7 separate regions of the Homo sapiens genome follow, and regions 1, 3, 4, 5, 6 and 7 are each linked to region 2. Evidence: promoter capture Hi-C in 16 types of primary human blood cells and fetal thymus (Javierre and others, 2016). All regions are on one chromosome and are shown on one strand. Each heading gives the region's core, a stretch centred on a gene start or on the middle of the fragment in contact. The rest is flanking DNA. Distances are from core to core; before and after follow the strand shown. Region 1 overlaps USP15 (ubiquitin specific peptidase 15). Region 2 holds the start of MON2-AS1 (MON2 antisense RNA 1). Region 3 overlaps USP15 (ubiquitin specific peptidase 15). Region 4 overlaps PPM1H (protein phosphatase, Mg2+/Mn2+ dependent 1H). Region 5 overlaps PPM1H (protein phosphatase, Mg2+/Mn2+ dependent 1H). Region 6 holds the start of LOC124903103 (small nucleolar RNA U13). Region 7 overlaps PPM1H (protein phosphatase, Mg2+/Mn2+ dependent 1H).

Region 1 (3,092 bases), core at 592-3,091, 190 kb before region 2:
TTAATCTTAGTACTCATTATTGGTCTGTTCAGGGCTTCCAGTTCTTTCTGGTTCAGTACAATCTTGGGAGGTTGTATGTTTCCAGGAGTTTACCCACTTCCTCTAGGTTTTCTAGTTTGTGCATGTAGTGATGCTCATAGTAGTCTCTGATGACCTTTTGTATTTCTGCAGTATCCGTTATAATATCTTCTTTTTTATTTCCGATTGTGTTTATTCGAATCTTCTCTCTTCTTGGTTAGTCTAGCTAGCAGTCTGTCCGTTTTGTTTCTCTTTTCAAAGAACTAACTTTTCATTTCATTGATCTTTTTGTATTGTGTTTTTGGTCTCAGTGTCACTTACTTTTCCTCTGATCTTTATGTCTTTTCTTCTGTCAAATTTGGATTTAGTTCTTGTTTTTCTGTTTCATTGGGTGTGACATTAGGTTGTTAATTTGTGTGTGTGTGTGTGTGTGTGTGTGTGTGTGTGTGTGTGTTTAGACAGCAGTATAAACTTTCCTCTTAGCACTGCTTTTGCTGTATCCCAGAGGTTTGGTATGTTGTATCTCCTTTTTCATTCATTTAAACATTTTTTAAAATTTTCATCTTAATTTTGTTGTTGACCCAAAGATCGTTCAGGAACATGTTGCTGAATTTCCATGTATTTGTATAGCTTCAAGAATTCCCCCTTGGGATTGATTTCTAGCTTTATTTCACTGTGGTTTAAGAAGATACTTGATATGATTTCAATTTAAAAAAAAATTCTTTAAGACTTGTTTTGTGGCATACCATATGGCCTATTTTGGAGAATGTTTCATGCATGATGAAAAAGAATGTATATTCTGCTATTTGGGGCTAGAATGTTCTGCAAATGTCTGCCAAATACATTTAGTTTAGAGTCCAATTTAATTCTGGTGTTTCTTTGTTGGTTTTGTGTCCTGATGATCTGTCTAGTGCTGTCAGTGGAATATGGAAGTCCCCCACTATTATTGTATTGCTGTTTATATCTTTTCTTAGGTCTAGTAATATTAGTTTTATGAATCTGGGTTTGGGTCTTCTGGTGTTGGGTACATATATATTTAGGATTGTTATGTCTTTCTATTGAATTGATCCCTTTATAATAACTTTGTGTATTTTTTTACTGTTTTTGATTTAAAGTCAGCTTTATCTGATCTAAGTATAGCTACTCCTACTTGTTTTTGGTTTCCGTTTGCATGGAGTATCTTTTTGCACCCCTTTCTTCAGTCTGTAAGTTTCTTTACCACTAAGGTGAGTTTATTGTAAGCAGCATATAGTTGGATCTTGTTTTCTAAATTCGTCCTGCCAATCTTTATCTTTTAAGTAGAGCATTTAACTCATTTATGTTTAAGGTAAATATTGATATGTGAGGTTTTATTCCTGTAGTAATGTTAATTGTTATCACATTGCTTTGTAGTTTCGTTGGTGTAATTATTTTACAAGACCTGTGGATTTTTTACTTTCTTACATTTTTATGATGGCAAGTATTGACCCTTCATTTCCATGTTTAGACTTCCCTTGATCATTTTTGTAGAGCCAGTCTAGTGATGACAGATTCCCTCAATGATTGTTTTTCTAGGAAAGACTTTATATCTCCTTTATTCCTGAAGCTTTTTCTAGCAGGATACAAATTTTCAGGTTGACAGTTTTTTTTTTCTTTAAGCCTATTTTGAAAATAGAATCCCAGTCTCTTCTGACTTGTAAGTCATCTGCCAGGAAGTCTGCTGTTAGTCTGATGGAGTTTCCTTTGTAGGTGTCCAAATGCTTTTCTCTTGCTGAGACCACACAGTCTGATGACTCTATGTCATGGTGAGGCCCTTCTTGCAATGTATTTTTCTGGGTTTCATTGAGCCTCTTACTCTGGATGTCTAGATCACTTGCTGGACAAGAGAAGTTGGTTTTCCAAACTTTTTGCTTTCTTTTCTTTTCTTTCTCGAGAATACCTACAATTCCTAGATCCAGACATTTTATTGTAGTCTCCTACTTCTCAAAGGCTTTGTTCATCTTTAACATTCTTTTTTCTTTCTTCAAAAGACCTGTCTTTATGTTCTGAGATTGTTTATTCTCCTTGATCTAGTTTATTGTTGAAGCTTTCATCTGTATTTTGTAAATCCTTCAGTGAATTTTTTATTTTCAAAAGATTTCATTTATATCCTTAATTGATATTCTGTTTCTTTGTGTTGGTTTTTCACATTTTCCATGAATCTCATTGAGCTTCCTTAAAAATCAATATTGTGAATTATTTAGCATTTCAGTAATGTTGGTTAGGATTTATTGCTAGAGAGTTAGTGTGATCCTTTGAGGGTATCGTAACACCCTGTTTTTTCAAACTTCCAGAATTATTACACTGGTTCTTTCTCATCTGGAAAAACACATTTCTCAGTTTGAATTAATTTTTGTTTGAACGAGACTGTTTTCCCTTGAGGATGTGACTGTAATGTATGTTGAATATGGTCATTTGGCTTTGCTTCTGGGTGCTTTTAGTGGCAAAGACTCTATATGAATTTCCTGGTTTTAGATAGCCTTTGGTGGCTTTCTCAAACATCAGGTGTGATAGTGGTATACTTGGCTTGTGAGCAGGCTCACAGCCTCCTGTAAGTCAGGGTAGCAGAGGTCTCAAGAAGTGTATCTTGTTCCCAAATTGTGTGCATTTATGTTACCAGATTGGGTTGTGCAGTTCATCTCCAGGCCAATAAGTAGCATTTGCAGGTATGAGTCAGCTTCAGTGGTAACAGTGGGGTTTACGCTTGACCTTTGTTTGCCAGGGAAAGCTCAGATATTCTGATGACTGGCAGAGGCACCAGCCCTGACAAGGGTGGCAGGGGAGAGGGGAGTCATTGGGCCACTGGTAAAATGCACTGAGGTCTCTTGTGGAGAGGGGTGGGATGGGGGGGTGTGGGCCAGGTGATGAGCTGTCTTAGCACCCTGGCCTCAGCAGGCAGGAATGTGATGTTTCCCTCTCACACTCCTATTCTGGTGCTCAGGTTGTTCAGTTCTCTTAGACACTGCTGTTTATCTCCAAGCTGCAATGTAGCCTAGAACTACAGGAGATGCTTGCCCCATGGCTTGACAGTACACTTCTGTGCTATCTGGAAATGG
Region 2 (3,235 bases), core at 377-2,876:
TGTGACTTGCCAGTACTGCCCGCTAAACATACTACGGTTAATGAAGTGTTTGGTTATCCATTCTCAAAAAAGAAAACAAAGTAGCTTTTAAAATCCAACACAGGTCTGGGCACGGTGGCCCATGCCTGTAATCCTGGCACTTTGGGAGGCTGAGATGGGTGGATCACTTGAGGTCAGGAGTTCAAGACCAGCCTGGCCAACTAAAAATACAAAAAGTACAAAAATAAAACACTCTACTAAAAATACAAAAATTAGCCAGGCATGGTGGTGGGTGCCTGTAATCCCAGCTACTTGGGAGGCTGAGGCAGGAGAATGGCTTGAACCAGGGAGGCGGAGGTTGTAGTGAGCCAAGATCGTGCCATTGGACTCCAGCCTGGGCAACAAGAGCAAAAAACTCCATCAACAATAAATAAATAAATCCAACACAGTAGTTTTACTTGATTTTGCAGTGTTCTATAATTTTTTTGTGTGTGGTGGAGAGAGAGGAGGCTTGAAATGGGGAAAAGGAGCCTAATTATTTTCAGTAGATTTTGTTTTTGTTTGTTATTTTTATTCTCGGAAAATTTAACTTTGCAGGGGATTGAGGTATTCCAGATAATGCCTTAAGGCAGAGGAAGGCAACATGTTGTAGTGCATTCAGAGTTTGCATGTGAATAATCAAATTAATCATGTTTTATTACATTTAACGTATATGTCACTACTGGGCTTAGTATCTGATGGTTTGAAAATTAAAAAGGTGGTAGGGTAGTGACTGACTTTGTGCTTGATATTTTGTCTATCACATATGACTTATTTTCCATAGATAATTCATTTTGGCAGTAAATTTTGTGTTCTAATTATTTTTATTCTTGCAGGCTGCTGAATCAGGAATAATAAAAGTTAAAACAATTGCTGCACGAAACACTGAAATTTTGGCAGGTAATTTTTTGTATTAAAAATTTAATAATAAACAAAAATTTGACTAATAGTAAAAGTAGAATCTTTATTGTAAAAGCCATCAGTTTTCTGTAACATCTCTTCCTCATGCCCTAACATATGCTATTCATAATGAAACAGAATGGGCAAAAGTCCATAACTTATGAACTGACTGTATTTCCCAGAGACGAATGCTACAAAAATTCTCTGAAATCAGAAAGCTTAACACTACTGACTCCTTAAAGGCAAGGAATTTTTTCTTACTCATCTTCGCATTCTCCTCCACTTCCTGCTAATCACCTGAGACACACCATAAAAAGCATTCAGTAATATTTGTTCCATTGTATTGAATGAAAGATTTGTTCTCAGTCCACCTTCTGTGATCTACTTTCTCTTTAATATAATACGAACAGTTCATAACATAGTCTTCTGTATTTAGTTGTACCGTATGAATTTTGAGTCTTGGGATTAAGGCAGTATGATCATGAAAAAAGAATGAGAGTGAAGTAGAGAAAAGAAAACAAAAATGTTTTCTTACCTTCTCTTGATTGAACCTGATTTTCAAGGAGGAATTTTCAGGAGTTTCTCTTTGGCATCCTTCTTTTCTACCCAGTCCACTCCTTTCTCTTCCTTGGTGCCTTTTGTTCTTGCCTCAATAATGAACATGGAAAAGAGGTAAACTGGCTTTTTTTTTTTTTTTTTTTTAAGAATCTGTTATATGCAAGGCACTTGTGTCATTCTATCTTACATAACAACCTTGTGGGGAAATATTATCTTATTTGATAGTAGAGCTAATTGAGATGTGAAGAGGTTAAGTTACTTGCCCAAGGTCACAGGAAAGGTGATAGAACCAGATTAAAATCCAGGAGTGTTCAGGAGCCCATGTTCTTCCTGCTACAGTGTGCTACCATGGTATCACCAGGTTTCCACGTTAGCCACTTACTCCCAAGTATTACATATGTAACCAGTGCTTGCTTCAGTGATCCTTTAATCTGCATTTCCAGTTCCAGTAGTGCTGTTGATCTCAGCTAATCTATGAGGAAAGTAGTCCTATTAAATTAATTTACAGAGTCCAAATAGTAAATAATCTCTTTAACTTTCATATACTTTACATTTTTTAAAAGGGATACCAGTAAATCTGTAACTGGTGGGATTTCAGAGTGTTATGAAATGAAATTAAGATTTTTGGGGTCAGATTAAGGATCGGGGGCAAGAGTGGATTTCACTTAGGCTATCCAGCTTTGCTGGAAATTTGCCCTTAGCATAAGCGCTCCTCAATTACATCTGTTTCCCACAGCTTTTTCCCTGATTTTGAACAGTCTTATCAAAACACCCAATAGTTTTATAACATTATGCACAGAAGTAAATAATGCTCTGTGTGCATATTGAGAAGTGGTATAGTGAAAGTGGTGGGTAAAGGCAGAGGTGCACATGGTAGGGTTAGGAAGGCTGGCAAGTGGGTTTTTTTTGTTTGTCTGTTTGTTTTTCCTGAGATGGACTTTTGCTCTTGTTATCCCAGCTGGAGTGCAATGGTGTGGTCTCGGCTTACTGCAACCTCTGCCTCCTGGGTTCAAGCGATTCTCCTGCCTCAGCCACCCGAGTAGCTGAGATTTCAGGTGCCCAACACCACATCTGGCTAATTTTTGTATTTTTAGTAGAGACAGGGTTTCATCATGTTGGCTAGGCTGGTCTCGAACTCCTGACCTCGGGGTTCTCCCGCCTCGGCCTCTCCAAGTGTTGGGATTACAGGCGTGAGCCACTGCGCCCGGCCAGCATGTGGGTTTTAATGGGAGATGTACATTAGGCAGATTAGCTACTGTGGGGAAATTGGTGTTTAAAGAAAAATGATGACCTGGATATTTTTATGTTGGAGACTTACCATAGGCCAATCGTATTAGAATATCACTGTAAATATTTAAAATATTTACTGTTGCTAATATCATTGTTGATACCGTGGTAAGTCCTTAATTATTCTCCAATAATACAAATTTTTATTGGTTTTATAGTTTGTGGAAGACTTTTTTTAAAAAAAGACTGATTTCCTCAGAGGATCACTGTTATTCCAGCATTCTATCCCAAGTAAAATGTCTAATAAATTACTCTTAAGATGAGTAAGAAAAATTTTGACTTAGTCGGTATGATTTAAATATATAGGCAGGCTGTTAATTTCATTTTAATTCAATTTGCATTATTCAAATCAAGTTAGAACAGATCTGGTGCAAATACAATTAATAGTCATGTTTTAATCTTCGTAGTATCCAGAGCCCATATACTTGAGGAGGTATATTTGCACTTAAACTTTATCCTAGTATTTTTTCTG
Region 3 (3,195 bases), core at 591-3,090, 180 kb before region 2:
AATGAAAGCTTAAAGGGCCTTAAACAAACCGTTAGTAGATTACTAGACTTTGAGATAGCTGCCAGTGAGAACTTGAAGTGAGGAAAGTCTTACTGGAAACTGGTAGAAAGTGGTCTTTGTTATACAGTGGTAGAGTAAGTTTAGCAACATGTTGCCTGCAGTAAACTGAAAGGTTAAAGATAGTATTTAATGAAATTATAGGTCTGCCAAAGTGTTAAAAGTACTGCCTAGTTTCTTTTTGTGTTGGTTATAGTCAGATGTGAGAGAAGAGAAATACACTAAAGAAAGGATTGTTCAATAAAACAGAGCCAATATTTACTAGTTTTGAAGATTCCTAGTCCCTCCAGATGGCAAACGGTGCTAATACTAAGCAGTGTTTCTGAGCAAAGATAAAACTCAGAGTATTCTCAGAAAAAAAGTGTGATCTAATCTGGCAGCCAAGGGTGTGACTGTAAGTTACCTCAGAAAAATCAAAGGTCATGCCTCACAGTACTATTCAGACAAAAGGCCCTATAAAGTATTTAAGGGTTAACTTAGAGGTTGTCCTGTCAGTAGTAATATTAATTAATATTAAGGGTGTCTTCTCAATATGTGGCTTCTAAGAACAGGAGGGCTTCAAGAAGCTTACGGGCAACCCCTTAGCTTTCTCAGCATAAAGCCAAAGTAGAGAGGACTTATCCTACAGAACATTTGTGGATATGGCTTTTGTCTAATGGAATGAACTCCAGTAAGATCCAGTGGAGACCTACATTGTTTTCGAATTACCTCGCAGAACCACTGCCATTTTGGACTGCAGAAGCAGTATTAAATGAAAGACGCCTTTGACCTCCCAAACTCCAATAAGTAGGAATCAGGCTGAAAATTTACTTAACTTCAAGCATGTGCTAATGCATGAAAAAAGGATGACTCAGAGAACAGAACCAAATGTTAGATAGAATAATTTTCAGGCAAGGGTAGAACTGAGTTCCAGTCAAGGAATTTCTAGTATTTGTCCAGGTAGATTTCATAATCGTTATGGACCATTGATTCCTTTGTACGTCCTATTTCCCCTCTTACAAAACAGGAATATTTAAAAGGCTATGTTCTGTGTGCTTCATTGTTTTATTTTGGGTGTATGGGGGGCAGAAAACTTGTCTCTTAGTTCACAGGCCTATACATCAAGAGGCACTACAGTAGTCCCCCTTATCTATGGTTTTGCTTTCCGCGATTTCAGTTACCTGCAAGCAACCATGGTCCAAAAATATTAAGTGGGAAATTCTGGAAATAAACAATTCGTGAGTTTTAAATTGTGCACCATTCTGAGTAACATGATGCCATCCCACTCCATGTCCTCCCCATGGACACTATACACTACCTTCCCGTTTGTCACTTAGTAGCCATCTTGGTTATCAATCTACTGTCACAGTGCTTTGTTGAAGGGCATTAGTAGCATAATGCAGCGTTACAATGTACATCATTCACTTCACCTCTTCTCATCAGGTAGACATTTAATCATCTCATATCATTACAAGAAAAAGGGTGAGTACAATATGATAAGCTACCTTGAGAGACCACATACACATAACCTTTATTATAGTATATTGTTCTAATTGTTCTATTTTATTATTAGCTATTGTTAATCTCTTAGTGTGCGTAATTAATAAATTAAACTTCGTCATAGGTATGTATGTTTGTAAAGGAAAAAACATAGTGAATATAGGGATTAGTGTGCTATTTGTAGTTTCAGGCATCCACTAGGGGTCTCGGAATATATGTCTTCAAAGGCTTATAGAAAATTTATAATTTGTCAATTATAGATGACAAATTTCTGAACTCCAGGTTGCTAAAATGAATTGAGACTAGTTGGGGCCTTTGGAAGAACTGAGTGTATTTTGTATTTTGGGGGAAGGAACTGTGAATCATTGGGGGCCAGGGGGTAGACTGTGGTAGCCAGCCTCAAAGATGCTCCCCAGTGATTGTGACCTCTTAGAATCCTTAGTCTGGTGTAATCCTTTCCCACATTGTACGACAGTTGGTCTATGCAGTCAGTAGCATGTGGCAGAAGTGGTGGTATGTCACTTCTGAGATTAGTCCTTAATGGATGCCTGTACTTCTATTGGGAGTGCACATACCTCCCTCATCCCCTCCCCTCGGATCACTCACTCTGGGCGAAGCCATAACTTTGCCCTTAACTTACCCTATAGAGAGACTCACATAATGAGGAACAGAGGCTGCCAACAGCTACATGAGTGAGCTTGTAATTAAGATTTGAACAACATGATTAACCACCATAACCTAATTGACATGTACATTGTACTTAGTCATTGCAGAATACACATTTCTATTAAGTGGAATTTTTAAGCAAAATTGACCATATTCTGGGTTATCAAAATTCCAGTAAACTTCAAATGATAGAAATTGTTCACTGTATTTTCTGTCATTAGTGGGATTAAGCTAAAATCAGTAACAAAGAGATAACCTGATTATCCCCCAACTATCTAGAAATGGAAAAATATACTTTTAAGTAATCCTTGAGGCAAAGAGAAGAATGAAAATTAGACATATTTTAAACTGAATAATAATTAAAATACAACTTAAAAGATTGGCTGAAATTCTCAGAAGGAATTTTATAGCTTCAGTGCAAATATTGGAAAAGAAAGTGAAAATCTATTGTCTCAACAAGTTAAGGAAATTGAACTTAAGAAGAAACATTATAATGTAGACATTAACAAAATAGAAAACAAACCTACATTAAATGAACAAAATTCAGTCATTGTAGAGAGCAGTGAAATTAGACCAGTAAAGTAAAGATGAGTCCTGGCAGGATTGTTTAAGAATAAAAAGAGAGTAGGCACAAATAACCTATATTGCGAATGAAAAAGGAAACATCATAGCAGAGTCTAAAGACTTTTTTGAAAAGATTATGTTTTGAACAGTTTTATGTAAATTTGAAAATTTAGATGAAGTGGATAATTTCTAGACAAACAGAACTTTAAAATGTCAATACAGTAAGAAATAGGAAACTCGAATTCACCTATGTGATTAAAGAAATTGAGTCATTGAAAACCTTCCCACAAAGAAAGCTTCAGGCCAAGAAAGCTTTACCAGTGTATTCTACCAAATATTTAGGGAAGCCATAAACCAATACCACACAGATTCTTTCTGAGAATAGAAGCAGTACTCCCCAACTTATTTTATAAGGCTAGCATAAACATG
Region 4 (2,987 bases), core at 190-2,689, 240 kb after region 2:
TCCCATTTGCTGTAGCCTCAACAGTTTCTAGGTCTGGTGGGAATTCTGGATCACTTTGAGGGGCTCTGAAAATTCTGCTGGGAGTAAGGCTTGGGGTGCTGATGGGTATCAAGGAAGCTTAAATACGAGGTTTTACAGAGAGGTTCTCCTGGGAAGGAATGAAGGGAACTAACACTTAATAGGTCAGGTCAACAGTGGTGCTTTGGGTGAGAAGAATTTGGGTGTGAATCCAAGCTCTGCTTTCATAAGCAATGTGGTTTTAGCAGGTTATTTAATTTCTTGGGCCTCAGTTTATCTGTAAATGAGATTAATTATATATCCCACACTGCTGTTTTCATAATGTAATGTCTATTAATATACTTAGTTGTTTCTGCTTACAAAAAATTATTATAGTCACCTAGTGATTATTGAATCCTATTATATCCTGAGTACTACACTCAGTGCTTTGAGAGTTCTAATTTCACCCTCTTAACAATCTTCTGGACAACACTGGCTACATCATTTGTGGGGCCCGGTGAAAAACAGAAACAGGGAGCCTGTGTTCAAAATCAAGAATTTCAAGACAGGGACAGCAGAGCATTAAACTAAGCAGAGCACTAAACTAAGCACGGCACCCTCCGCGACCGCACAAGTCACAGGCCCATGAAGCTCGTCATGCCTACTGGGTACATACTATTTTATTCTTTTTATTTTAGTCCGCCCATGAAAACTAAGGAACAAAGGCATAAGTGGTCAACGGACAGCACCATCTGTTATAAGCCCTTTATGATCTTTCAGAACTTTCAGATTGTATCAGCATGAATACAATCCACTACCCAAGCTGGACTAACATGGGCTTAGGGGTTACCATGTGCCAGCCCCATACCAGGTACTTCATACACCTGATCTTACTCCCCAACAATTTTACAAAGCAGGAGTCGATTTGATTTACAAATGAGAACACTACATCCTGGAGAGGTTAAGACCTAGCCCGAGGTCATTCGCCCAAGACTGGGTGGATCTTGAGCCTGAGCTTAATATCATGGTTATAACCCTCATCCTAACCATATTTTGGGCCTTTAACCTACACACACATTTTTACAAAAGATAGTAAAGGGGCCATAAGAGGCCTGTGATCCTTTGCACTTAGACCAAGCAAAGTCTGAATCAGTAAACCTTGTTAAAAGAACTCACACACACAGAGCCACACACAGTATGGGCACAAAAATGTCTCTGACATTATTTATAACATTAAATAACTAGAAGAAATCATTGAATGAATAACTCATTAAATAAACTAGCATAAACCCAAACAAAAGAATTCTATGGTGTCACTTACAATGACACTACAGAGAATATGCAATGACACAGAGTTGCGTTAAGTGTAAAAAAGCAGGTCATCAAACAATATGTGTGTGTGCATGAACTTGTGAGTGCTGGGTCATATATGCACAGATCTTTATAGAAGACATACATACGTACACAGATGCTCCTCTGCTTACAGTGGGGTTACATCCCAGTAAACCCATTGTAACCTGAAAATATTGTAAGTCAAAATGCATCTCATACAACTAGCCTACTGATCAGAGCTTAGCCTGGCCTACCTTAAATGTGCTCAGAACACTTACATTAGCCTACAGTTGGGCAAAATCATCTGGCAACACAGTCCACTGTAAAGTGTAGGTTGTTTACCCTCATGATTGGGTGGCTGACTAGGAGCTGCTGGCTCACTGCCACCGTCCAGCATCACAAGAGAGTATCATACCACATATCCCTAGCCTGGAAAAAGGTCAAAATTCAAAATCAATTTGAAGTATGATTTCTACCAAATGCATATTGCTTTCACAATATCAGAAAGTTAAAAAAAAAAAAGTAGCGGTGCTTTCATTCTGCTTTGTAAAATGAAGGCTGCCCTGATTAAAAAAAAAAAGTAAGTTGGGAACCATCTGTTTACAAATGAACATGTTATGGTCTGAATGTGTCTCCTAAAATTCATGTGTTGGCAATTTAACCCCTAATGCAACAATGTTGGGAGGCAGACTTTTTGGGAGGTGTTTAGGCCATGAAGGTAGAGCCCTCGTGAATTAATGCTGCTATAGAAAAGGGCTTGTGAGAGTGAGTTCACTCTCTTGCCCTTCCACCTTCTGCCATGTGAAAACAGAGCAAGAAAGCCCTTACCAGATGCTAGTGTCTTGATCTTGGGGCTTCCCAGACCCCAGAACTGTGATAAATTTTGTTCTTTATAAATTACTCAGTTTGTAGTATTGTTATAGCAGCACCAGACAGACTAAGGCTGTGTGTGTGTGTAAATACAGATACGTGGCATGCATATATATTATTAACAAACAGGTAAGAATCCAAACGACATTCCTGAGCACATTTCTTAACAAACCCCATGTCTAAGAAGGTGATGCATGTTCAGGACACACTACCTCCAATCACAGTACCTGGGCATTTGAGGGAACAGGAGAAGCAGCCCATAGAAACTAGGAAGAATTCCCCTTACTCCTCCTCTAAAGCAAGCCATGAGACCTAGCTCACCTTCCCCAGAAAATAGATCATTAAGACCCGATTCCAGAGGGGCCCTGCACCATACCCAGAGGAAAGAAATATCACACAGGGATGCCAAGATGATGCTGAACAAACAGGCCTTGCTAAGTACCCCTACCCCTGAGTTTATTACCATTAGATCTTTTGTCCTTTGATCAAACTTCTGTATGACTGTCCCTAAAAATACAGTTTGCCCTGTTTCCTTGGGGCTTTCTGAAGACATCTATGTGACATAAGCTTATATTAAATCAATTTGTTTGCTTTTCTCTTGTTAATCTGTCTTTTGTTATAGGGGCATCAGCCATGAATGGGTAAGAAATCTCTTCTCCCACATAAGGGTAAGTGTGGAGATTTCAGGCGCTTTGCCTCCTAACAGGAGGATGAGTGGGCCCTTTGATGGTGCTTTAAACCAGGGACCCTTGGGCTCTTTTTGGCTGATATCCATTTGCCTGGGTGGC
Region 5 (2,991 bases), core at 287-2,786, 220 kb after region 2:
ACAGAACCTGCTCTAAGTAGCTTCCAAATTAGGAGCTCAGGCTTTGACCAGATAAAAACAATGGGTTCTATTGGATTCATTTGCAAGTATTTACTGAGCACCTAGTAGGTGCCGGGCACTGGCACAGGTGCTGGGTATACGGAGTAGAATAAAGTAAACAAAGTGAAAGTCACCTTTTGATTCGTAGGCTGAGTTCAGCAGCAGAAAAGGATGCACTTGGAAAAAAATCAGTATTTTTAAAAAAAGTAATCATGTGTATGTATAAAACAGAACTAATAATATTTCAGGATAAAACATTATGAATGACTCTTAAGGAAATTCCAGATTTGGAAATTATTTCTGATTCAGTATCCACTTGGTGTGCATTCACACTTGGCCGTAACAGCTTCATATTCTAATCAATAACATTTAGCTCTCTCCACCGATATGAATCAGAGACCCTTACTTCATGAGCACACAAATGTGAAGTGATTTCAGCTTTCTCAGAGACCATTTATTCTGAAATAAACATGAATTTCATTGACATTCCCTTTATACTGTATGAGATCAAGTCAATATATACAAATCAGGATATGAACAAAATGGACCCCATAGCTACAAATGGTGGGGTGAAAATAGCAAACAGATTATTAATTACAAAGAGGGTTTCTGCTGCACAGGCAGTTCCTCTGTGTCGGCCCTTGCGGCTTTCCCTCACGAAGCTTCTCCCACTCTGCTCAGATGGATATTCATATCATGGAGCAGAGTCCTGCAGTGTCCCCTGGGAGAAGCCACATGCAGGGACTTTAACCTATGCTACATCATTTCAAGGCTTTCCACCCAAGTGCCTTTGAACTGATAACATTACACGGTGCAGATCTCAAGTATCAGTGCTTTGAGTCTTCTGTTTTATCTTTAAAAACCATGAGAGTTTTGCACAAGCCTACAAATGAAGTCCTTCTACCTCACTCCCAAAATTTTCAGGTGAAATAGAGGCTTATCTTGTAGCTTCCCATACTCTTCTGAAATCTTCTACTAACCCCCATATTATTCAGGCCGCCAAGGCAAGAAGCGCAGGCCTGAGTAACAGCTGTCGATATTTACCAAAGGGAGGAATACCACACTCTTAGCTCCTGCATCCAGGTGGCCCTGTTGTTTCAGAGGATGGAGAGCAAAGGCAGCCATTGTTAAATTTTCTGCTGTCACCTCACGCCCAGCAGTTAACGGATTTTCACATACCCCAATGTTTATTATGCAATCTTTTTGTTCCAGGCACTAAGGATTTATATTTTTAAAAACTTACATAATCCTCACTGTAACACTGTAAGCTAGATAGAAACATTATCCTCATTACACAAATAAGAAAATGGAGGCATAAGAGAGGTCATATATCTGGGAGGAAATAGGGGTCAAGCTCACTTCAGGTCTGTCCCAACAGTTACACTCTTAACCACGCTTCTCTGTGCCTCTGTGAAGAGCTAGGAATCTGCATAAATGCCACAAAATGGCATGAGATGCAAAAGAATGTTTAATTATTAATTCTCTTCCTAAAATTAAATTGTAAAAAAAAAATTTAAGCTCATCTTCACATTCTAGGTTTTTATAATGGTCAGTCGCATAGAAGTTAAAACATACCAGTACTCCTAGGGTTGAAAACTAGGGTTGTCTCTTAACAATACTGCAGATGTACAAGATCACTATAGAATTAGATTTAACCTGAGCTTTGACGTTCAAAGTGCTCAGGTGCAATAAACTCAGACTCCAAATTTTCATACCTAGGTGCCCAGTTTTCTATAGGGTGATCCAATGTGACCCAGAGGATCAGGCCTTGGAGATGGGGTGTGTAGCATTTACTGAAGATGAGCAGGAATCAGAAACCATTAAGTTAAATGCCCTGGGCAGCATGGTCTCCTGACCTATCCCATGTATTTATACTATGTGTGAAGCCTGGACTATCCAGGTTATGGGCACAAAAAGGAAAAAGAGGAGGCCTAATTTGACCCTGACCCACCGTTGCACCTGAAGGCTTTACCATCCCTTATCAGCCACTGCCAGTCCAGTCTACTGGCACCTTATGAACAGTCACTGGCTCACTGCAGGTGGACAAAGACATTCCCAAGCAATAGCAAGGGGATAACCAGGGGCAAAGACCACCAGCAGCCCAGGAGTCACAATACTTTGACAGCCCAGGCTGCCCAGCGCTCTTTAACCGACCACTTCTGCAAACTGTTATTCATATCCATTGTAACAAACTCTAGGGCTGCCCAAAGTCAATGTTTAAGGATATACAGCAATCGCCTGGGGTGCTTATTAAAAAATGCAGAATCCATAGAGATTCTAATTCAGCAGATAAAATAGACCCTGAAATGTTTTCAGTAATTGCCCCAGATGACAAAGCTTCAATGTAGGTAAACCTTTGTCTATTAGTTTTGTATGAAACTGTAATCATCCATATATGGCCCTGTCCTGACACTAGACTGTAAACACCATGAGGGTTGGCACTGTTTTTTTCTGCTTTGTATCTTCAATGCCCAACCTAATACCTGGTTCACTTAATGAATAGTAGTTGAAACTGATTGTCCCACAGAGATGAAGCTCTGTGCCTTGTCCTTTAGGTACAGAGAGTGATACATAGCATCTGATCTACCCTGGAAGACTGACAAGGCTGATCCCATCTCAGCAGAATCTGAACCTGGAATATGGCAGAATACTACAGCTTTTGCCAGAGCAACCAGGTGAAGAACAAAAAGTGAATGTGTTCCATCCCCTCATGAGGCTTCTGAAGCTTTCCTTATGATCTGATTACAACAAAGGAGAGAGGCAACTGACAACACACTAGTTCTGAAACACCGCTGGCATCTTTGTTATCAGCCTTCCTGGCTCTTACAGAGAGATCTGCTTTCAGCTCTCCAGCAAGGAACAGACACAAAACTTTAGCCTCTCTCTTAATAAGTCCTTGATTTACTTGTCTGAAGGTAAGAGGACGGTGGTGGTAGGATGAGATTTTTCAGG
Region 6 (3,199 bases), core at 76-2,575, 170 kb after region 2:
TGATCCCAGGATTGTGAAGATTCCAAGTTGTTCAGTCTTTGAGGATCAAGTCTATTTGTACAGCCCAGATAGCAGACAGAAGTGTAACATACACTACAGCAGAAAGGATATTATAGTCAATACAAAATAAATACCTTTCCTTCTAGAGGATGGGGTAGTAGGTGAATAATTTTTTCTATCTGTATTGAGAGAATTATCATCTTTGAGGCAGAAATCTTTAAGTTATTCTTGAGGGAAGATGCAAACAGTTCGTCCTGAGGTTCTCCTCCTCTTGAGATCAGGAAATAAAGGCCTCCAAAGAGATCTTTGGCTGAAGAGCTAAGTAAATATCTGAAAATCGACATATTGCAGCTCATACACTATAGTCAGAAAAGCCTCTCAGCTGCTCACCTCATTCTCACACTGCTATGAAGAACTACCTGAGACTGGGTAATTTATAAGCAAAAGAGGTTTAATTGTCTCACAGTTCCGTATGGCTGGGAAAGTCTTAGGAAACTTAAAATCATGCCGGATGGTGAAGGTGAAGCGAGGCATGTCTTACATGGCAGCGGGAGACAGTGAGTGAAGGGGGGAAATGCCACACTTTTAAACCATCAGATCTCGTAAGAACTCACTCACTCACTATCGTAAGAACAGCATGGGGGAACTCGGTCCCCATGATCTAATTGCCTCCCACCAGGTCCCTCTCCTGACATGTAGGGATTACAATTCGACATAAGATTTGGGTGGGGACACAGAGCCAAACCATATCACCCCAGCTTACTCTTAGTTTTATATTAAATTGTATATGAGACATAAACACATGGGGAAAGGCCACCAGCCACACCAGAGTGATGTTTATTATCCTGGTGATTGATCAGTCTGCACCTGAGCTTTTTAGGTTCAGAAACCTGGCTAAGTTTATTTGCCTATCAGGCCTGAACACACCTTAACCCAGGTATGAGCTGACTAGACATAGAAAATTATGGTATGCTATGAGAAAATATGCCTGACAATAAAAGATACTCAATCCTTTTGTAGTTCATAAGCTTGATGTTTGAGTTTTCACACTTACGTGTGAAATGTGCCTCCCTTAAACCTTGTTACTACGTCAGCACATTACCCATGAGACATGGAAAAAGAGATAGACAGACACTCAAAGATGTCAAAAAACAGATACAGGAACTCAAAACACAACTCTTTATGGCTATTTTAAGCTCCAAACAGGCCTCAACAGGTCCTGCAGTCATGGAGAAATGACTGGCTTTATTAGAGTCATGAAAGATGAACAAGAGACCACCCTGATGCTGCTATTACTAGTGACTTTGCATATTTTTTAAATGGTCAAAATTAGCTTGGTATTTTTAAAAAGCAAGGATTAGGTCACCTAGAAAAGATGGCTACCCAGGAAACTCATTTCCCTGAGGGCTGTAGGTAATTAAGGTTTCATTCTTCAATATGGTTATTTCCTATTCCAAGATAACTTCCTTTGAGATTGGTTCTCTCTTCACCATCCACTCTGTTTTCCCTTAGGTGCTTAACTTCCTGAGGGAAAATCCACTCTTGCTTTCTCAATTTATTACTTCCCATTTTCTTCCTTTGTCTCTTACCAGTAGGCCCAATACTCTACTAATCTGTCCTCTTAAAGCTTGATCCAAGGGTGGCTTCTCAATACTTATTCTGCTTAACCCTTTGTGTTCAGCACAAATACTGCTGATTATTTTATCCTTAAAAATCTCTGTTCTTGAATTCTCCTTTCTTTCTGGGGCTCCCATGCCATAACCCACTCCAAGTTCTCCTGTGACTGGGCTTCCATGACACACAGCACAAGTCCTTCTCTCTGATGCTCCTTCTTAATTTCCTTTGTAGGCCCTAACTAAGACTTAGGAAGAACTCAATGATCATTAATTTCTTTTTACTTCCAAAGTGGAACATCCCCAGCTATCATCCTTAGTTAATGGTATCCTGGTCTCTTAGGCAAGAAATCATAGTGTTTTTCAATGCCACTTTCACACCCTGATATTGTTCAATTATGAAATCCACAGGGCAGTGTAGGACTTCTAAACTTTGCATTATTATTATTCAGAGACAGGGCCTCGCTCTGTCATCCAGGCTGGAGTGCAGTGGCATAATCATAGCTCACTGTAACCTTGAAGTCTTGGGGTCAAGTGATCCTCTCACCTCAGCTTCCCAAGTAGCTAGGACTAAGGCATATTCCACCATGCCCAGCTAATAAACTTTGCATTATTTTAAGTGTATTTTATTAGTAGCACATGGCTAATTAAAACAAAATCCATATAGTCACTAAGATGATAATTTTGTTTATTGCAAAAACTGGTAGACCTGTACCTATATTTTGCAGTCATATATACACACACATATGAAAACTTATTTTGTGTTTTTAATTTATTATGTGCTTCTTTCCTTCTTTCTTGTTTTCTGTCAGGTGGATAGCTTTAATATTCCCCTCCCCCAACTGGATTGGAAGTGTTATTTCTATTATCAGTTATGTTAAATTTTTAGTATATAAGTTAATCGTATTTCTGTCCTCCTGAAAATAAAAGGACCTTAGAATGCCTTCTTTCATTTTCCATGTTACTGCCTATTATTTTAATTCACCTTTTTTTGAGCCTGCCTTAATCATTATCATTTACAATCTACACTTACATAAATAAACCAACATACTAACTTCTTTGCTTTTTATGAAACTACTCCTTGCTTCTGGATTTAATTTCCTTCCATTGAATTACATTTTTAGTAATTTTTTTAACAATGGTCTGTGAGTGGTAAGCTCACCTAGTCTTTGGATTAAGAAAATCTTTATTTTTACCTTTGATTTTGGCTGATAGCTTTATTGTTATGCAATTCTAGATTGTCTGTTATTTTCCCTCAGCAGTTTGAAGACATTATTCTGCTTACTTCTGACTTCTACTCTTTTTGAGAAGTCTGTCTTTTATCATTCCTTTATAGGTAAATGGCTTTTGTCATTGATAGCTTTTCAAGTTTTTGTGTTTTTGTTGCTGATATGAAGTACCACTAAGACATAACAAAAAGGAGCTTTTTACTTATCATGGTAAGAAATTAGTTTTACTCTTTCAAACTGAAAACTTCTGAAAAATTCTCAGCCATCAACTTTTTGGATATTGCCTCTCCTCTATTTTGTAGATATTCTCCATAAACTCTTATTAGATCTTATTTTACCTTGCAGATTTCAACTTCT
Region 7 (3,274 bases), core at 75-2,574, 190 kb after region 2:
TCTCTGGGAAGGTACCATCTGAGCGAGTCAATTTCCCATGGGTCCCTTCTTGCACCTCCCCAACCTTCTTTTGGATTCCTGTTACTCAGTGTTAGACTGGTGGTGAAGAAGGGAGGGCTGAGAAAGGTGGGTGTCACTCTCTCCTGCCAAAGCAACCCTAAGGAGGACCAAAGAGAAGCCATCTTTCTTTTCCCTGGTCCTCTGCAGGCACAATCCTTTCACACCCACTAATATAAGATTTACCTATATGCTTTACTGTGGGTAAATCTTTGTCTGTCAGTTTTGTGTGAAACTGTAATCATCGATTTATGGCCCTGTCCTGACACTAGACTGTAAACACCATGAGGGTTGGCATTGTTTTTTTCTGCTTTGTATCTTCAATGCCCAACTTAACACCTGGTTCACTGAATGAATAATCGTCGAAACTGATTGTTCCACAGAGATGAAGCTTTGTGCCTTGTCCTTTAGGTACAGAGAGTGATACACAGCATCTGATCTACCCTGGAAGACTCTCAAGGCTGATCCTGTCTCAGCAGAATCTGAACCTGGAATATGGCAGAATACTATTGCTTTTGCGAGAGCAACCAGGTGAAGAACAAAAAGTGAATGTGTTCCATCCCCTCATGAGGCTTCTGAAGCTTTCCTTATGATCTGATCACAACAAAGGAGACAGGCAACTGACAAACAGCACACTGGCCCTGAAACACCGCTGGCATCTTTGTTATCAGCCTTTCAGGGCCCACTTTTCTGTCTCTTCTAAAAGACTAGATATTCTCAAACCTAAATGTGTTTAGAATCACTTGGAGTGCTACCTTAACCAAGTTAAGATTCAAAGATCCTACCTGTAAGAGTCTTGATTGTACAGATCTGAGCTGCATACTTCAACAGGACCCCAGGGAATTCTGATGCAAGTGGTGGGGGGAATCTCACCTTGAAAAACTGTAACAGACGATCAACTCCTTTAGGGATAAGGTCCATCTTATCCTATCTGTTTTTGTACCCAGAACAGAGCACTGTGCCTAGCACTCAATTCACAACCGAAGAAAGCATTTCCTTATTGGGTATTTTACCCCTGTCCAGCTTACAATGAACACCCAGGGGGTTGGTCATCTTATTGTCCCACCAAAATTCAACTTCTGAAGGCCCAGAAATCCCAATTTGTATTTCCTCTGTGGGTCTAGCAGCATCTTCTATAGTGTAAACCACAGTAGGTCTTCAGGACATACTTGCTGAGGCAAAGCATAAACAGGGGAAGGAGAGTGGAAGAAACAAATTAAACATACAAGATACTTTCAGAAGACCCCCTCATTTCACGGTGATCCAACAGATTTAGTTTGTTAACTGAGACACTTCCAAATCGTCAAACAAATGTAATGTGCTGATATATAACAGAAGTGGCAAACTCTTTCCTTTTCTTCCTTTGTTTTCAGTGGAGCTGCCAATAAACATTCAGTGTGGGGGAGCAGGAATAAGTCTGGGGGCAAACAAGAACCTTGACTAATGTGCTCTGAATGAGCCAAGTGCTGACTGCTCTCACAGAGCCCTCAGCTTCAGAGCACTTAGAGATGTCCTTAATGTCAACATTGGGCACTTATTTTACACAGGAGCCTGTGACAAGCAACTCTTTAATACAGCACCTCCACTTAGTGCTCGGCTGCAGGCTGCTGTTTCAGCGTTTGTGTAATACTTGCTCCCATCTTTGCCTTATTACTGATGATATTTTGGTGGCATGTTAGGAGGGCTCATACACCTATAAGCTGACTCTGGCTTCTTAAAGCTACTTTTAAAAAGAATCCATCAATTCTTCCATTTGCCAAATCTCTGCCGCTTCTCTAGGATGCCCTCACAGCTTTTGTGTCTTGATCAGTTCAGCAGATTCTCCAAACTGGTTTTTCCCTTTTAAGTACTCAATGTAGGACAATGAGCTCCTGCAGCTCAGGACTGGCTTTGTGGAAGAGAAAGAGGCTTGCCCTTGTTATCAGAAGCCTTGCTTCAGGTCTCTGCTTCTAACAAGCTTTGTGACTTGAGAAGAGCCACTCTTTTTTTTTTTTTTTTTTTTTTTTTTTTGAGACAGGGTCTTGCTGTGTCGCGCAGGCTGGAGTGCTGTGGCACAATTCTGGCTCACTGCAGCCTCAACCTGCCACACTCAAGCAACCCTCCCATCTCAGCCTTTCAAGTAGCTGGGACTACAGGTGCACACCACCTATACTTTTTTACTTTTTGTAGAGACGAGTTTCATCATGTTTCTCAGGCTGATCTCAAACTCCTGAGCTCAAGAGATCTGCCCACCTTGGCCGTCCAAAGTGCTGGAATTACACGTACACACCACTGCACCTGGCCTAGCGCTCAATTTTCCTATCTCTGAAATCATTTTTCAAAAACTGAAAAACACAAGAAAAAGGAAATATAACAACTGCTCTACTTCTCTCACAAAGCTGTAATTAAGATCAAATAATGTGGAAGGGAACTGCCAATTTTAATTCTTTTATGGCACTGATCTCAGGGCAACCACATCTGAATATCGTCTAGTTGGTAGAAGGAAAGGATTAAGAGTGGGCTCAGGGAAACTGGGATTCAATTCCCAAAGTCTCATTTAAAACAGCAGTGACTGGAGCTCTCAATAGTGTTTCCTGGCAGAAATAGCCAAGGTGGTTCCCAAGGTAAAGGCTGCCAGTAGTTGGTGGGAAATAAAGAGATGAAATCTTGTCCCCTCTATTTCATGTGTCCAACCCAACAGCTCAACCTATGGATCTTTGAATATGACACTTATGACAAGAAGAAAATAAAACACCAACACACTTCCTGCAGCCCTATAAACCAAGTAGATCATTTCAAGATTGGCATTCCAGCAGGCCACCAAGACTATACCCAAATTCTCTGTAGTAGTCTATCTACTTTACTTGATGTCATGAAACAAACACTGAATTTGGAGGCAGAAGACTTGGGTTTGAAACCCACCTCTGCATTAGGCAAAATCACTTTATTCATTCAGTTTCAAAGCTTACAGACCATCTGCTGGGAACACCAAAGGTAAATGGGATACTGATTCCTTGGATGGACGAGCTGGACATCGTATGCCTTACACGAAGAGGAAGCTGCAGGGGCTAAAGCCTGGGGATGTGAGAAAGGGCTGGTGTGTTTGGGCAGCTTTACCTTGCTTGGTTTGGCTGTGGTACTGGATGTCCCCTGGGGAGTGGGGAGGGTGAGGCTGGACTTCTCCAATCTCCCCTGTCTCTGTTTGTGAAATGAGAGGTTAGGCCTAGGTGGCCAATGG

The links. Contacts are between HindIII fragments. The CHiCAGO score rates a contact against its expected background, and 5 or more counts as called.
Region 1: a contact is called between a fragment that was not itself captured here and the fragment with the promoter of MON2-AS1 in region 2, in 4 of 17 cell types (naive B cells, non-activated CD4 T cells, total CD8 T cells and 1 more). The highest score is 6.6, in naive B cells.
Region 3: a fragment that was not itself captured here is called in contact with the fragment with the promoter of MON2-AS1 in region 2 in 7 of 17 cell types (naive B cells, total CD8 T cells, total B cells and 4 more); the score reaches 7.3 in naive B cells.
Region 4: a contact is called between a fragment that was not itself captured here and the fragment with the promoter of MON2-AS1 in region 2, in 5 of 17 cell types (naive CD8 T cells, non-activated CD4 T cells, naive CD4 T cells and 2 more). The highest score is 6.6, in naive CD8 T cells.
Region 5: a fragment that was not itself captured here is called in contact with the fragment with the promoter of MON2-AS1 in region 2 in 1 of 17 cell types (naive B cells); the score reaches 6.3 in naive B cells.
Region 6: a fragment that was not itself captured here is called in contact with the fragment with the promoter of MON2-AS1 in region 2 in 1 of 17 cell types (total B cells); the score reaches 5.6 in total B cells.
Region 7: a contact is called between a fragment that was not itself captured here and the fragment with the promoter of MON2-AS1 in region 2, in 1 of 17 cell types (non-activated CD4 T cells). The highest score is 5.0, in non-activated CD4 T cells.

Annotation. Positions count from the first base shown.
Region 1 is chr12:62,289,267-62,292,358 of GRCh38, forward strand. The region is part of intron 1 of USP15 (ubiquitin specific peptidase 15); the gene reads left to right. Among named protein-coding and RNA genes, the nearest start is that of USP15, 30 kb to the left of the region's middle. The HindIII fragment of the contact is 480 bases long and covers 1,602-2,081 here.
Region 2 is chr12:62,483,316-62,486,550 of GRCh38, forward strand. MON2-AS1 (MON2 antisense RNA 1) reads right to left here and starts at 1,627. Exons shown (of 2, transcript NR_186172.1): 1 at 1,454-1,627. It overlaps MON2 (MON2 regulator of endosome-to-Golgi trafficking), which reads left to right. Exons shown (of 35, transcript NM_015026.3): 2 at 855-918. The HindIII fragment of the contact is 7,471 bases long and covers 1,135-3,235 here.
Region 3 is chr12:62,306,383-62,309,577 of GRCh38, forward strand. All of the region lies in intron 3 of USP15 (ubiquitin specific peptidase 15), which reads left to right. Among named protein-coding and RNA genes, the nearest start is that of USP15, 48 kb to the left of the region's middle. The HindIII fragment of the contact is 2,439 bases long and covers 622-3,060 here.
Region 4 is chr12:62,721,463-62,724,449 of GRCh38, forward strand. All of the region lies in intron 5 of PPM1H (protein phosphatase, Mg2+/Mn2+ dependent 1H), which reads right to left. Among named protein-coding and RNA genes, the nearest start is that of MIRLET7I, 120 kb to the left of the region's middle. RefSeq lists an enhancer at 2,937-2,987. The HindIII fragment of the contact is 2,649 bases long and covers 116-2,764 here.
Region 5 is chr12:62,705,288-62,708,278 of GRCh38, forward strand. The region is part of intron 6 of PPM1H (protein phosphatase, Mg2+/Mn2+ dependent 1H); the gene reads right to left. Among named protein-coding and RNA genes, the nearest start is that of MIRLET7I, 100 kb to the left of the region's middle. The HindIII fragment of the contact is 1,675 bases long and covers 700-2,374 here.
Region 6 is chr12:62,650,167-62,653,365 of GRCh38, forward strand. The region is part of intron 9 of PPM1H (protein phosphatase, Mg2+/Mn2+ dependent 1H); the gene reads right to left. LOC124903103 (small nucleolar RNA U13) reads left to right here and starts at 1,009; the gene lies at 1,009-1,112. The HindIII fragment of the contact is 599 bases long and covers 1,027-1,625 here.
Region 7 is chr12:62,671,677-62,674,950 of GRCh38, forward strand. All of the region lies in intron 8 of PPM1H (protein phosphatase, Mg2+/Mn2+ dependent 1H), which reads right to left. Among named protein-coding and RNA genes, the nearest start is that of MIRLET7I, 70 kb to the left of the region's middle. The HindIII fragment of the contact is 1,376 bases long and covers 637-2,012 here.